Linked DNA regions of Homo sapiens: region 2 is linked to region 1. Evidence: promoter capture Hi-C in human tissues and cell types (Jung and others, 2019). All regions are on one chromosome and are shown on one strand. Each heading gives the region's core, a stretch centred on a gene start or on the middle of the fragment in contact. The rest is flanking DNA. Distances are from core to core; before and after follow the strand shown.

The links. The method cuts DNA at HindIII sites, captures the fragments that hold promoters and counts their contacts. A contact is called where the count stands out against the background at its distance.
Region 2: a contact is called between a fragment that was not itself captured here and the fragment with the promoter of AP1G2 in region 1, in 3 of the 25 tissues and cell types used here (dorsolateral prefrontal cortex, lymphoblastoid cells and spleen).

The regions. Positions count from the first base shown.
Region 1 is chr14:23,566,422-23,569,121 of GRCh38, reverse strand. AP1G2 (adaptor related protein complex 1 subunit gamma 2) reads left to right here and starts at 1,331. Exons shown (of 22, transcript NM_003917.5): 1 at 1,331-1,383; 2 at 1,803-2,011; 3 at 2,436-2,560. The coding sequence starts at 1,808. JPH4 (junctophilin 4) reads left to right here. Exons shown (of 6, transcript NM_001146028.2): 6 at 1-1,084. AP1G2-AS1 (AP1G2 antisense RNA 1) reads right to left here. Exons shown (of 4, transcript NR_110555.1): 3 at 1,700-2,700; 4 at 1,046-1,433. RefSeq lists silencers at 140-239, 1,229-1,278 and enhancers at 1,759-1,998, 2,029-2,118. The HindIII fragment of the contact is 7,450 bases long and covers 1-2,062 here.
Region 2 is chr14:23,448,768-23,451,473 of GRCh38, reverse strand. No RefSeq gene overlaps it. Among named protein-coding and RNA genes, the nearest start is that of MYH7, 14 kb to the right of the region's middle. The HindIII fragment of the contact is 6,568 bases long and covers 1-2,706 here.

The sequences.
Region 1 (2,700 bases), core at 82-2,581:
CTGAGGCCTAGTGAAAAAGCTGCAGGAGGTGCATCCTCCACCTCTAATCTTGGAGGCTATTATCTTACCTCCAAGCACTGAGCTGGGTTACTGCCCAATTCCATCCTTCCCTGAAGGAGAGAAGGGAAGTGAAAAGTAGAGTAACTCCCCAGCATTTCCCTCTTTTTCTCCTCATCGGCCAGCCCCTCCTCCAGCCCCCTCTGGTGGCATGCCATGCCAAGAGCAACGTGTAAAGGAACAGAGAATATCCAATGCAGTCAAGTCCACCCTGCCCAGACTTTGCCACTGACTTCTCCCACCCTTCTGTCTCCCCCATAATAGTTTATTTGGTTGGTCTGGACTCACTTGTGGCCTTTGATTAAATTCCTAAGGGGCCTGAAGAAGACATTTCTACTGCAGAGGGTTAGAGGCACTTGAGCAAGGCCCCCACATCCCAACTCTGGGAGTTGTGGTGGGAGGAGGCACTTCTGGGGGATAGGACCAGACAAGATAACAGGAGCTCACATGGAAGCAGAAGCTGTGACAAGTTTAGTAGTCCCAAAATGGGTTATATCCCTTCCCCCTTTACATCAGAATCTTGTGAAATGGGAAAACAACAGAAGGAGGGGATCAAAGATAGCTGATCTCACATGCTTCCCAGGCAGGGCAGAGGTGGGAGTCAAACCCGGGTGACAGGTGGGTGGAGAGCCCTGTTTGAGGTTGTGGCTGATCCCTCTCTGGTATTAGTTTTTCCCCTGGGAGCAGGAAGCCCTAGGAAGAGGGGACTGCAGGGTCCCCAGGGGATCTTTCCTCCCTCCCCTGCATGAGGCAGAGGCAAGCTGCCTGCCAACCCCCTCCCTCAAGGAATGGCCTTGCCCAGGAATGCCCACCACACATACCCTCTTCTTTTTTTCTAGTCAAACTCTTGTTTATTCCTTGGCTTGCCTCCCTCCTTCCTCCCCTCTCAACCTTTACTTCTGATTTCTATTTCATGGAATTTGGGATTGAAGTTAAACTACAACAGTGCCGCCAACACCAAGTCTTGCAGGAAAAAAATACAAAGAAATTTAACAAAAAAAATATATTAATAAAAAAGTTCAAAAAAGGGGGGGGATTGTCATCTCCTTTGGGGTGCGATGGCTTCAAATCCAAACTGAGGCTCTCCGGGTGGTAAGGATGTGCGAGGAGGCCTCTTGAAGAACTCCAGGCCTATCATGCTGTCTCTCCGCTAAAGCCTGAGGCCCGAGGTCAGAGGATTCAGGAAGGCTCTGCAGTCGGCCCAGGAGGGCGGGGTCCCGTGGTGGAGGCGGGGAGAGGGAAGGACCGCACGGAGCACCAACCCCTGCTCGGCCCCGTACCAGGAAGCGCTGGGGGGCAGAGGAGCGGAGTTGAGGCAGAAGCCAGGTGAGGCTGGAGTCCTGGGGTAGGCAGGCTGTCGCTGCCGCTGCCGCTGCCTGAGATGGAAATCGGGGGAGGAAGCTCGCGGAAGAAACAGCGGAGGGTCGTGGAAAAAAAAGCAATGGCTGAGCTAGGGATGGGGTACCAGGTAGGGGGAGGAAACGGTAGAGAGAAATAGGTGGGGCTCCCGCGCATGCTCAATAGGAAGGGGCGCCGGTGGGGTGCGGACGCATGCGTAGTGGGCTTCTCGGGCGGTGGGGTGGGCGCGGAATTTGGAGACCCACTTCGGGAAAGGTAAAATGCGGGCGCAATTTTAGGGTACCTGTGGGACCCGGGCTCTTAGGGTCTTGACACAGGACGGGCCTGGGCCGAAAGCCCAGGCACGCCCGACCAGAGAGTGTTTCTCCACTCCCGGACTCTGCCAGTCAGGATGGTGGTGCCTTCGCTGAAGCTTCAGGACCTCATCGAAGAGATTCGCGGGGCCAAGACTCAGGCCCAGGAGCGGGAGGTGATCCAAAAGGAGTGTGCCCACATCCGGGCCTCCTTCCGCGACGGGGACCCAGTGCACAGGCACCGGCAGCTGGCCAAACTGCTCTACGTCCACATGTTGGGCTACCCCGCCCACTTTGGACAGGTACTGGCCAGGAATACCTCCCTCCTGAGCTTGATGAAGGCTAGTGGGGCAGAGTCCCAGACTCTCTCACCTGTTTATGCCCTGGTTTTTTAAATTCTACAATTTCAGAGTCTTCACAGCCTGCACTGCAAACCTCTTTCCCCATTGCTACCCCTACTGGTCATCAGCTGGCCTGAACCCTTCATTCTCTGGCCAGCCTCCTTTAGGGCAGGCATCTCCTCCTCTCCGCTCCCATCCTCCTCAACTCCTAGTTCCTCCTACCCACTAACGCCTGAATTTCCTAAGCTTCTCCTCTTGTTGAAGGGAGAGTGATGAGATATGATGCCCCACAGGTTAATCTGGTTTTAAAGAGGAAGATGGAACAGGGATGTGAGTGTCTATGGTTTCACCCCTGCCTCTTCCTGGTCTGCCCCCTTCACTATAGATGGAGTGCCTGAAACTGATCGCCTCCTCCAGATTCACAGACAAGAGGGTGGGCTACCTGGGGGCCATGCTTCTATTGGATGAGAGGCACGATGCCCACCTGCTCATTACCAACAGCATCAAGAAGTGAGAGGGTTCTGGCAATCACTTGGAATCAGGGAGATGGGAGAGTAGGGACCTTGGAAATCCCAGGGGACTGCCTGTTGTGGGTATTGAAAAGGACTGATTTTCTCAGAGGTTTGACTGACCGTCCTCCCAAACCCTGC
Region 2 (2,706 bases), core at 49-2,548, 120 kb after region 1:
AAAGAATTGTTTTGGAATCTTTGTTGAAAATAAATTGATCTCCCTTCATTTTAAATTTTAACTAAATGAAAAATTCAGTGTCTCAGTTGCACTAGACACATTTCAAGTACCCAACAGCCATGTTTGGCTAGTGACTACCACACTCAGTAGTGTAGCCCTAGGGGACACAAAGATGAAAATATTACAGTTCTCAACCCCAAGGACCTCATATTCTGGTGCCATCAACTTAAGGAAACTGAAGCGGTGTAAGAATAAGCAATATGCTAACAATGAAAAGCAACAGCAGGAAAAAAAGCCACAATGATTGTAAATTAATGCTTTCAAAGAGTGGCTATATGTAAACATATTCATAATTTTTGACTAAGGAATTCGTCTCCTAGAATTTGTTCTATTGAAATCATTCAAAATAAAAAGAAGCCATGTGTACTTATGTTTAGAGATACTTTATTTATAAGTTCAAAAAAACTACAAACAGGGAGTCAGTGGGAAAGAGGAGTAACTGCTAATAGGTATGGTATTTCTTTTGGGGGTGATGAAAATGTTCTAAAATTTGATAGTGGTGATGCTTGCACAACTCTGAATATACTAAAAACTACTGAATCGTATATTGTAAAATGGTAAATGTTATGGCACATGAATTATATCTCAATAACAATGTTATTTAAAACTATAAACAATCTAAATATCAAACAAGTAAATGTTAATATTTTTACTCAGAAATAGCAAATGAATAGCTCCGTAGCTCCATTTATTGGGCATTTACTACATGCCAGGCACTATTCTGAGCACTTTACATGCATTAATTCAGTGGTTCTCAATGTGTGGTCCTCAATCCAGTAGCATCTGGTATGCAAATTCAGGCATCCCAGGCTGGAGTGCAGTGATGCAATCTCGGCTTACTGCAGTCTCCACCTCCCAGGCCCAAGTGATTCTCCTGCTTCAGGCTCCCAGGTAGCTGGGATTATAGGCATGCACCACCACACCAGCTAATTGTTTTGTATTTTTCATACAGATGGGGTTTCATCATGTTGATCAGGCTGGTCTCAAACTCCTGACCTCAAATGATCTGCCTCCCAAAGTCCTGGGATTACAAGCATGAGCCACTGCACCCAGCCAAGAAAATGTGTCCTAACAAAGCTTCTGTGTGATTCTGCAGCATGAACAAGTTTGAGAATCTCTGTATGTATTATGCCATTCTTGCATTGCTATGAAGAAGTACCTGAGACTGGGTAATTTACGAAGAAAAGAGGTTTAATTGCCTCACAGTTCTGCAGGCTTTACAGTATCTGCTCAGCTTCAGGGAAGGCCTCAAGGAACTTTTACTCATGGCAGAAGGCAAAGCAGGAGAAGGCATGTCATATGGCAAGAGCGGGAGCAAGACAGGGAGAGGGTGCCACACGCTTTTAAACAATCAGATCTTGAGAGAACACACACACTATGGTGAGGACAGCACCAAGGGGATGGAGCTAAACCATTCATGAGAAATCTACGCCCAGGACCTAAACACCTCCCACCAGTCCCCACCTCCAACACTGAGGATTACATTTCAACATGAGATTTGGGGGGACACATATTTAAACTATATCACTGTATTAAGTTATCTGACAGCAAACCCATAGGTTAGCAATATTATTATCCCCATTTATGAAATATAAGATTGTAAGAATATGAAATGCTAATTGGTGTTTTATGAGATTATGTACATATATATCTACACACAGCAGCCATACAAAAAATATGTATTATACACATATACACACCCCTTGGAAAGAACTGAACAAAGGAGAATAATGTGATTGGGTAGGAGATCTTGGGTGTCATTTTTGTAGTTGTAAAGTTTCAACAAAGTTTGTTTTGTGTGTTTCAGGGTCAGCTGTGTTGGACTGGCAAGTGCTTTCAAAGGAGAGCCACTGAGCTGTGCCTAGAAAAGCAGCCAGAAAAAGTCCCGACAAGGTCAGGGACTGAGAAAGCCCAACCTGGGGTGAGGGTGCTGTCCATAGACCAGTCAGACCTGGGGGGAGACTGTGAAGGGATAAGGTGGGGCAGTTGGGCCAGCTTATGGAGGGTCTTTAAATGCCAGCCAGAGGAGTCCAGGCTTCATCTTAAAGACAACAGGGAGCCCTGGAAGTTTCTATGAATGACAGATATGTAAGAGGTAGTGCTTTAGAAAATCAAGTCTGCTAGCCATCTGGTGAAATGAGCCTCTGGAAGACTAGTTAAGGTGCTGTTGCAATTATGCAGACGTGAAAAAGGGGCTTGCCTAGTGTTTTTCAAGAGAATGGAAAAGAAAGGAGGAGGCGGGACATTTCGAAGGTGGAATCTGCCGAATAGTATAAATGTAACTGAGTACCTTTCTCCTGGATCCCTTCCCCTTTCTCTTCTCTAGTTCCCAGTTTCTCTAGGTAGGTTTCTTCATTCTTTACCTGTGACCACAAGTCTAGAATCTCTCATGCAAATGAATCAGAAACTAAACGTTGCTTTCCCCCAAGAATCACTGGTTATGCCACCTATTCTATAAAATCAGATAGTATCATGATCTCTTTTAATACACATTAATAGCTGCTCAGTGCCTATAGATTAAAGTCCAAACTTCCTTAACTTGGTTCAGAAGGTCCTTCATGACCAGCTGAACCTGCCTTCTAGGCTCTTCTCTTGTCATATTCCCCTGATTACTCCCATACTTTAGCCATTCTGAATCAATTTCAG